Regions from separate parts of the Homo sapiens genome. Here region 2 is linked to region 1. The links are contacts of gene promoters, found by promoter capture Hi-C in blood cells and fetal thymus (Javierre and others, 2016). All regions are on one chromosome and are shown on one strand. Each heading gives the region's core, a stretch centred on a gene start or on the middle of the fragment in contact. The rest is flanking DNA. Distances are from core to core; before and after follow the strand shown. Region 1 holds the start of BORCS7-ASMT (BORCS7-ASMT readthrough (NMD candidate)). Region 2 overlaps CNNM2 (cyclin and CBS domain divalent metal cation transport mediator 2).

Region 1 (4,851 bases), core at 439-2,938:
AGCCTCCAGAGTAGCTGGGACTACAGGTGCCCACCACCACGCCCGGCTAATTTTTGTATTTTTAGTAGAGACGGGGTTCCACCATGTTGGGCAGGCTGGTCTCGAACTCCTGACCTCAGGTGATCCTCCCGCCTCAACTTCCCAAAGTGCTGGGATTACAGGCGTGAGCCACGGCACCTGGCCTACTTGAAATATTTTACATATTAATTCACTTACAAGGTGGTTACCATCAGTTTGGTATTAATACAATAAAGAGGTTATCAATAAAAATTACTAGTGATGTTGAGCATTTTTCACATTTATCAGCCAGTTGATTTTTTTTTTTGAATTGCCTACTTGTGCCTTTTGCCAATTTTTCTATTAGATTGTTTTTCCTTCTTCATTTGTTTACAGGCCTATCTGCCTCATCAGCCTGGGAGTTCCACAGAGACAAGAACTGTATTTCATTTCTTTCTCTATCCCCAGCCTAGTACAGTGTCTGGTATTTAGTTCATGAAATGTTTGTTAAAATTGAATGGAATGAGGCCAGGTGCAGTGGCTCACGCCTGTAATCCCACCATTTTGGAAGGCCAAGGCTGGTGGATCATTAGATGTCAGGAATTTGAGACCAGCCTGGCCAACATGGTGAAACCCTATCTCTACTAAAAATACAAAAATTAGCCGGGCCTGGTGGCAAGCACCTGTAATCCCAGCTACTTGGGAGGCTGAGGCAGGAGAATCACTTGAACTCAGGAGGCGGATGTTGCAGTGAGCTGAGATCGAGCCACTGCACTCCAGCCTGGGCAACAAAGCGAGACTCCATCTCAAAAAAAAAATAAAATAAAATAAAATTAAATAAAATGAGACAAGTTATCGCTATGTTGCCCAGGCTGCTGATACTGAACTCCTGGCCTTGAGTGACCCTTCTGCCTCGGCCTCCCAAAGTGCTGGGACTACAGGTGTGTCACCATATGGATAGGTTGGCCTTGAACTCCTGACCTCAAGTGATCCACCTTGGCCTTTCAAAGTGTTGGGATTACAGGCGTGAGCCACCACGCCTGGCCCCTTGTCTCAATTAATCAAAAAAAGGCCTAGGCAACAGAACAAGACTCTGGGGAAAAAAAAATATATATGTATATATATATGTGTATATATATGTATATATATGTATATATGTGTATATATGTGTATATATATGTGTATATATATATATGTGTATATATATATGAATGGAATGATATTCTCATAACCCCTTGGAAACATTATTACTTCTGTTTAACAGATGAGGAATATAAGACAGAAGCTGAGTAATTTGCAGCCACACACTGCTAAATGGTAGCATTGGGACTGTAATCCGGGCCTTCTGATTCTTTTTAATTATTTGTATTAATTTTAATTTTATTTTATTTTTAAAGAGATGGAGTTTCGCTATGTTGCCCAGGGTGGTCTGGAACTCTCAGGCTCAGGTGATCCTCCTGCCTGGGTCTCCCAAAGGGCTGGGATTTCAGGCGTGCGCCGCCATGCCCTGCCGCAGGCTTTCCGATTCTGAACCATAGAGTCAATGAAACTGTCCTCCATCCCCTCCAGAGATGTTTGCCTGGACCCTGTTTTCCTCAGGATATCAATGAATAGTTCATGAGTTTAGTGAGCAAAGGTCAACCTCCATCAGGCGCATGCGTCCCTTCCTTTTCCCATGGAGGAAGAGACGCCTCTTTTCCTTCCGCTTTGCTTGTCTTTTGGCCCCGGCGACTCACCATCGTCAGTGCGCAACCGTTCGCTAACTGAAATGATGGCGACTGGAACGCCAGAGTCTCAAGCGCGGTTCGGTCAGTCCGTGAAGGGGCTTCTCACGGAGAAGGTGACCACCTGTGGTACTGACGTAATCGCGCTCACCAAGCAGGTGCTGAAAGGCTCCCGGAGCTCCGAGGTGAGCTGGAAGTGGACTCTCCCGGCCTGATAGTCCGGGGAGTCGCAGTCTTTCGTTGCTGTGGGAAGGAGGTCGCGTTGCATCTTGGGAATTGTAGGCTGTGAAGTACTTGCTATGAGTAGGTCTTCTTCGCGGAGGCGCGTGTTGCATTCTGGGGTGTGCAGTCTCTTTGGTTAGGGACAGTGTGTGAGGGTTGGGGGAAGAAGCGATGCCATGGGAACCTGTGCTTTAAAACAGCTCTTTGGGAGGCCGAGGCGGGCGGATCACCTGAGGTCGGGAGTTCGAAACTAGCCTGACAATCATGGAGAAACCCCCGTCTCTACTAAAAAATAATAATTAAAAAAATATATAGCCGAGCGTGGTGGCACATGCCTGTAATCCCAGTTACTTGGGAGGCTGAGGCAGGAGAATTGCTTGAACCTGGGAGGCGAATTATATATATAAGTATTATATATTACGTATTATATAATATATATACGTATATATTATATATAATGTGTATGTATATATTACATATATAATATACATATATATTATATATAATATATGTAATATATATTATATATATTTTCAACTAGAGGTGTTTATAGTTAACCACCTGTAAATATTCAACATATTCATCATAATAAACGTACATTTATTTAGCATTTTATATATGCTAGACACTGTTGTCTTTTATGGAGTTTAATTCATGAAGTCTTTAGAATGACTAATTGAAGGAAGTACTTTTCCTTTTTTTTTTTTTTTTTTGAGACGGAGTCTAGCTCTGTCGCCAGGCTGGAGTGTAGTGGTGTGATCTTGGCTCACTGCAACTTCCGCCTCCTGGGTTCAAGTGATTCTCCCGCCTCAGCCTCCTGAGTAGCTGGGATTACAGGCACGCACCACCACACCTGGCTATTTTTGTATTCTTAGTAGAGATGAGGTTTCACCATGTTGGCCAGGCTGGTCTCGAACTCTTGACCTCATGATCTGCCTGCATCAGCCTTCCAAAGTGCTGGGATTACAGGCGTGAGCCACCGCTCCTGGCAGCATTGCTTCTTGAGCAGTCTCCACATAGCTATTTTGTTTGATTAGCTGAGAATTTCATGTGTAAAAAACTCATTCCACAGTATTCATTTAACAAATACTTATTGGGTGTCTGCTATGTGCCAGGAACTGCTCTAGGTACACGGAATAAACAAAACTAAATCCCTCTACTTGGGAAGTTTACATTTTAGTGAAGAGACAGACGATAAACAAGTGAAACAGAAAAAAATCAGGTGGTGGTAAATCCTGTGAAGCAAAATTAATCTGGGAATAGAGAGTGATGAAAGGGTTAATCTTTGTTTGTTTGTTTGTTTTGAGACAGAGGAGGAGTCCCACTAGCTCTGTCACCCAGGCTAAAGTGCAGTGGCCCGATCTCGGGCTCACTGCAACCTCTGCCTCCTGGGTTCAAGCGATTCTCCTGCCTCAGCCTCCTGAGTAGCTGGGATTATAGGCGCCTGCCACCACACCCAGCTAATTTTTGTGTTTTTAGTAGAGATGGGGTTTCACCATGTTGGCCAGGCTGGTCTCAAACTCCTGACCTCAAGTGATCCTTCCCGCTTTGGCCCCCTAAAGTGCTGGGATTACAGGCATGAGCCACCACACCCGGTCGAAAGGGTTAATCTTAAACAGATGATCAGGGAAGGGGTCTCTGGGGAGAGAGCCTGTGAGGAGAAACACACTGACATTTGCCCACAGCATAATGAGTGGTTATGACTCATAGGCTTGTCTCTTGCATGCCTGCGCTTCTCCTCCTCCATTTGAGTTGTGTGCTTAGTGAGGGTCCATTGTGTTTTTTTCTAAACATCATGTGTCTGTGGGCTGGGCGCAGTGGCTCATGCCTGTAATCCTAACACTTTGGGAGGCCGAGGCAGGATTGCTTAAGCCCAGGGGTTCGAGACCAGCCTGGGCCACATAGTGATATCTTGTCTCTGTAAAAAAAGGAAAAAAAAAAAGAATGAAAACAATTTTTTAAATGTGTGTATGGCACTTATGCTTACAGTTGCAACTACGTAATTTAATGAAATAATACGAAAAATGAAATATGAGTACCAAAAAAGAGGGTTGCTATTGCTATGAAAACTAAGTTGAAAATCAGAAACACTTGTTGAAGATGAGTAGCTAAGACAAATTGTTATTGAGTTAATTATGAACAAGTTAATGGTAAAAGCCTAGGAGAAAAATTTATAGAAATCTAAAAAGATTCTGTAGTGAAGATTGTTTTACAGGTGTATTCAAGATGTTCTTCCATTTTAAAGAAAGCAAAACTAGAAATCTCAGATGGTATGTTATGTGTCTGGTCTGTTTATGTAGGAAAGTGATGCAGAATGCCAATGAATATATCAAGGAAAAGCCTTGGCTTTACATTACAACAGCCCCTGCCTTCAAGGCAACCACAACTCCCATTGAGTCTGTTTTCTAAATGTCTCACAAATCCTTTGTTTCTTTTTTTCTTGGCTACTTCTGTGTTTCAGGCCATCCTCATTCCTTGCTTAGAGTACTGCTGTGTCATCCTAACCAATCTCTCTGCCTCATTCCCCACTCTAGTCCACCTGCTTACCACATTTCTAAAACAGAAAAATGGATCATGCCATTTTTCTCTAGAATTACACACAAAGATGAATTCTAAACCCTAACTTTTAAGTCTCAGATTAGAAGTCACTTCTTTTAGGGACCTTTCCTGAACACCTACCCCTGTAATCAGTTAGACACTCCTGCCCCACTACATGCTCCCGGAGCAGCCAATGCTTCCCCATCAGCACTTACCATAAGGTGATGTAAGTGCCTATGTTCCCTTTGTAACCCCTCCAGATTCTGAGCCCCGTTATCACTCTTAACCAGAGTAAGGGCATATGTTAAACACTCAACAAATGTTTATTAAATGAGTAAGTGAATGAAGTAGATTGTTGGAACCCTTTTTT
Region 2 (5,046 bases), core at 1,427-3,926, 210 kb after region 1:
AGAAACTTTGAGAAGAGGTTATCTGATACCTTTGTCCAAAGAAGGGCAGGATGCTGTGAGAGATGCTTTACTCAGGAAGCCAACTTTGCTGGTCCAGTGAGTCCTTCTTCCAAGTTCGTCAGTTTATAAGCATGAAGCCCTACTTCCCTCTGGGAATTCTTGGAATTCATCATGTCCTGTCCTGGTTTTTTTGGTGATATGCTCGACTAGAGTAAACTTACAGATGTTTCAAAAGTAAAATCAATATGTAGCTTCCTTATATGGAAAAAGTTGTTATCTGAAAGGACACCTAATTAATCTCGAACCAGGTAAGCCATCTCCTCCTGTGCCCTAATTTTTGTATACTGGTAGGTTATTTGAAAATGAATGTTTTTTGGAACCACTAACACGTAAATGAATAAGATACGTTTACTGGATGTTTTTAAAACTTGCCTGCCAGAAAAGCTTAAATCCTATAGAGAGGGATGTAGTGGGGTGGGCAGGTTTGACAACTCTTGGAATTGTAGAGTCATAGAATGCTATTATAGAACTGAAAGAACTGCAGGTACCCTTTAATCTGTTGCAACTTTATATGAAGTAAAATTACTCTAATGTGATAACTCTTCCTAAGTGCTGAGATATTTTAACAAAGTTTTTGCCAGTTTGAGGCAGAATGAGAAAATAAAGACAGTTGCGATGAGCTTTTCATAAAGCTATGTGTATTCAGTTTGAAGACCTATTACTCTGAAATGACATATTTTCTAAATTTGAGGGGTTAAATGTCTGGTCTTTTATGAAATGATGGTAACAGTAGATAGCTGTTTTTTTTGTTTTGTTTTGTTTTGAGACAGTGCCTCACTATTTCGCCCAGGCTAGTCTTGAGCTCCTGACCTCAAGCAATCCTCCTGCCTCAGCCTCCCCAGTAACTGGGATTACAGGTGTGAGCTACTGTGCCTGGCAATAGTTGTGTTTTTTAAAATAAATACCTTTATTTTGCCCTGGCACGGTGGCTCATGCCTGTAATCCCAACACTTTGGGAGACTGAGGAGGGAGGATCAGCCAGGAGTTCAAGACCAGCCTGGGAAACATAGTGAGACCCCGTCTCTATAAAAAAATAGAAAAATTAGCTGGGCATGGTGGTGCACACCTGTAGTGCCAGCTACTCAGGAGGCTGAGTTACAAGTGTTGCTTGAGCTCAGGAGTTCAAGGCTGCAGGATTCTCACCACCGGTGCGGTGAGCCATGATTGCACCACTGCACTCCAGCCTGGGTGACAGAGTAAGACCCTGTCTGAAAAAATAAATTTTAAAACCATCTTTATGAAAAAAAAATTTGGCAACCCCGTATCTTTCCCTGTATCTGTCTCTGTAGAGGTGCGTCTTACTGGCCGTTAGGATGGAAATGTCTAGGAATCACTGAGCTTAGCATATCCACCCCGCAGCAGTGAATCTCAACTAGATGGAGTCCAGAGGGAAGATGGCAGATCCTCCCCTGCCTGGGATCCTGTCTGGAAGGACAGAGGAAGCATCAGCTGGAATGGCAGTGGTCTGGAGTTTTGAGTCTTGCAGCCGCCCTTGCTTAATCAGTTGACTCAGCTACACTGCCTTTGAGGGAGTCCCTTGAGAGGCCAGGGCACACAGTTTCCAGGGCTGGGGCCATTGTTCACAGACAGAGCCTTAAAGCAATGATTCCCAAAGTTTGTGGCTTGCTAGAATCACCCGGAAATCTTTTTAAATAAAATCCTGATGCCCAGATTCACCTATATTGTTAAATGAGAATGCCCGAGGGCCGGAGCCAGAGTCGGTAATCTGGGAATCTCTGCTTTGAGTGTGCAAGGCAGAGCTTCAGGCCTCAGAGTGGAACCACCGCACGCTTCCAAGAGACAGATGGTGTGAACCTATGGATTAAATAGAAAAAAAGATGTACAGTTTTCTGTTTTACAGTCTTGTTTTGGTTGTGCCTGCCCTACTAGTCCTGACAGTTTTATCTCCAAAGAATAGTGACCTGGCATCTGTCTGCAGGGACACAACACAAAAGGCCCTGTAACTTGTACAACAAATGCTCCAGATAACTGGAGACACCCAGGAACGGAAGTCACCATGAGGCTCCACTGCATTTGACTCTTCCTCCTGATTTCCTGCATGGAGGGTCAGGCTCAGAGCTGGTCACGCAGCCACTCTTGAGGTTACAAACTACAAAGCAGACATTTGCAGCCAGCACATACATGTCAGTTCAGGAAGAGATGGACACGGAATTGGGGAGACATGTACCGTGGCTACTCCTGTGTGTGTTGCTATCTCTGAACCTTGTTCCTCCCCTCCTCTTTGAAGGGACCCTACTTCAGGGACTTCCCCAGCACCCAGAGTCCTGAATTTTCAACAGCCTTCCCATGGCCCCACAGATGGGGATGTCCTGCTGCCTGTCCCTCTCCTGCCGGGGCCACTGTCCTCCCACTGATTCCTCTGTAGGGTAGGAAAGCCTCCTGCAGCCCCCAGCGGCCTGTGGTCAGTGATTGCTCCCGGCGGCCTTGAGCACCTTGAGGCCCTGACCGTCCTTGCCCCTGGAATTCTCCTGACCCCTGCTCTTCTGCCATGGTGCCGTGGTCTGGGCCTCCCTTTTCAGGCTCTGCCATGGTCCTGTTATGGTTTCAGTTTTCCCTGCTGCTCTCAGTCACGGGCTGAGCTTCGGTCCTTTTCCTGTCTCAGGTCCCCATCTCCAGCCCTGACCTCTCTCCAGACCTTCTTTCTCCCACTCGTGGTGTCCCTGTTCCTCAGCCCCTCCCAATGGGCCTCTGGTTCCTATACTCCTGTCTCCCTGATGGCTTCTTCGAATCATGCTGGTCCCTTATCAATAGCTTCTCTACCGCACTCCCTCCCCAGGCCTGTGGCTGCCACCCTCGTGGAAGCAGACTCTGTTCCTCCACCCAGGACCCAACCCTGCCAGCCCATTGCCTGGGGATCTGCTCACCCAGCTGCCTTCCAGATGTGCCCTCACTCCTCCCTGCAAACACAGAGCCTGGCCGGCCGCTGCCGCCACCCTGGGCCTCCCTCATGCTGTCCCTTTCTCTTGGTCATCCACAGCTTTTCCTTCCTGTATGCGATTTGTCTTTATATAAGAACAAGAAGTAAGATTTTTCTGGGAGCTTCTGTTCCCAATGTCTTTTTCCTCATGCTGAGCTCTTGTGTGCCATGTGGGCTGTTGCTTCTCATGTGCTCGCCTGTCCCTGCTGCATGGTCAGCCCGTGGGGGATGACGGCTGTCATCTCCGACTCCACAGTGTCATCTCTAGGGCCCTGCCTGTGTGGGGAAGGTTTGTAGCACCTGCCCATTTGCAGGTGGATTTTATATCATGGGTGGAGTTGTAAGTTTATACGGCAAGATAATTGGCTAGGGACTGGTGAACTGTCATTTCTGTTGAGCAGGAAAACCTGAGAGGCAGTAGTTCTTCTCCTGAAGCTATGGCCCAAGAAAGACCTTTTGTAATTGGAAACTTAATATAAAATGATAGTTTGCATCAGGTGGCATAGCATCTTTTTTTTTTTTTTTTCTTTGAGACAGGGTCTCATTCTGTGGCCTGGGCTGGAGTGCAGTGGCGTGATCATGGCTCACTGCCTCACAGGTTCAAGTAATCCTCCCAAGTAGCTGAGACTACAGGTGCACGCCACCATGCCTGGCTAATTTTTGTAGAGATGGGGTCTTGCTGTGTTGCCCAGGCTGATCTTGAACTCCTGGGCTCAAGCAATTTGCCTGCCTCGGTCTCCCAAAGTGCTGAGGTTACAGGTATGAGCCACTGCTCCCAGCCTCCTAGCATCCTGATGAAGAGCTTGTTCTTTACTAAATCTTGCTGATCCCCCCTCCCCTGATTTGTAGGAGGGCAATGATTTGTCTGCTGCATCGAGTTGTGCACATTAAATGAATTCATAAAACACTGATGTGTTAGCACAATTCCTTTTCAATACATGGCATCTTAATTTTTGTTCACCCATTGTAAAGGATGCCTCACACAGTTGTAGTAATGGGAACAAGAGCATTTCTGACCCTTGGCCTGAGAAACTAGAAGTGAAACTGACTTAGAGCATTTCAGTAGCCCAGAAAACACAATGAGCACCTACCATGCAGGGATTATAGTGGACCCTGGGGTTCCAGGGATGAATAAGACACTCTATCCCAAAAGAACTCATCAAGGTAAAGAAGAAGTTGTCGACAAGTTAGCGAAAGTGAAGAAAAGGGAAAATCTTAGGGGGAGGAGAGGGGAACTTTATTTTAATGGAAGGAGACTTTCTTCAAACTGCTTTTCCAAGACAGGAGAAAAATCCCATGGAATTTAAGTGCCTCCAGGAGTGTAGACAGCAAGTTACCAGCCTGCGAGGGGTCTGCTCAGTGGTCAGGACACCGTGCTCGTGAGACAGAGTGGGTTCTACCCAGGTTATTCCTCTCTGTTCCATGGCCACAAACCATGTCGGCCCTTGACCCTGATTCAGCCCCGGCCCTGGCTCCTTGGACAGCCTAGGCAGCCATCGCCCAGCATCATCTTGGTGCTGGTCCCACTGATGGAGCAAGAGCACCACCTTTCCATTGCTGGAGGCCTCCTGAAGAATCCAAGAACTACAGATATTGGGAAGATACTAAGTGGACTCACAGAAAGTAAACATCACAGGCCAGGCACAGTGATTCACGCCTGTAATCCCTTTGGGAGCACTTTGGGAGGCCAAGACAGTGAGACAGGATTATTTGAGCTCAAGAGTTCAAAACCAGCCTAGGTAACATAAGGAGATCTATCTCTACAAAGAAAACTGTATTTTAAGTTTTTAATTTAAGAATTATTTTAAAAATAAACATCACATTTACACTGTCACCTCTGTATAATCAGCCAAATCCAGTTTTCATATTTAAAGCGAATGAGCCCCCTCCTCTCAGTGGGAAAGATGAGCTGAAGCTTTACTCCCTCGATAGTGTTGGGAAAAGAAATCAGACAAAAATCTAAGGAAGGACCAAATATTGTACAGAGTGTGCCAGTAGGCTTTTGCAACTGGACTGAAAATACCTGCCTTTTCTCTCCACAGGGGAAA

The links. The method cuts DNA at HindIII sites, captures the fragments that hold promoters and counts their contacts. A CHiCAGO score of 5 or more calls a contact.
Region 2: a contact is called between a fragment that was not itself captured here and the fragment with the promoter of BORCS7-ASMT in region 1, in 1 of 17 cell types (erythroblasts). The highest score is 5.9, in erythroblasts.

The regions. Positions count from the first base shown.
Region 1 is chr10:102,852,522-102,857,372 of GRCh38, forward strand. It overlaps BORCS7-ASMT (BORCS7-ASMT readthrough (NMD candidate)), which reads left to right and starts at 1,689. Exons shown (of 15, transcript NR_037644.1): 1 at 1,689-1,906. BORCS7 (BLOC-1 related complex subunit 7) reads left to right here and starts at 1,738. Exons shown (of 5, transcript NM_001136200.2): 1 at 1,738-1,906. The coding sequence starts at 1,766. RefSeq lists enhancers at 1,258-1,771, 1,754-1,813, 1,772-2,284, 1,884-2,073, 3,081-4,053. The HindIII fragment of the contact is 18,616 bases long and covers 1-4,851 here.
Region 2 is chr10:103,063,589-103,068,634 of GRCh38, forward strand. It overlaps CNNM2 (cyclin and CBS domain divalent metal cation transport mediator 2), which reads left to right. Exons shown (of 8, transcript NM_017649.5): 5 at 5,041-5,046. Among named protein-coding and RNA genes, the nearest start is that of NT5C2, 130 kb to the right of the region's middle. The HindIII fragment of the contact is 4,469 bases long and covers 443-4,911 here.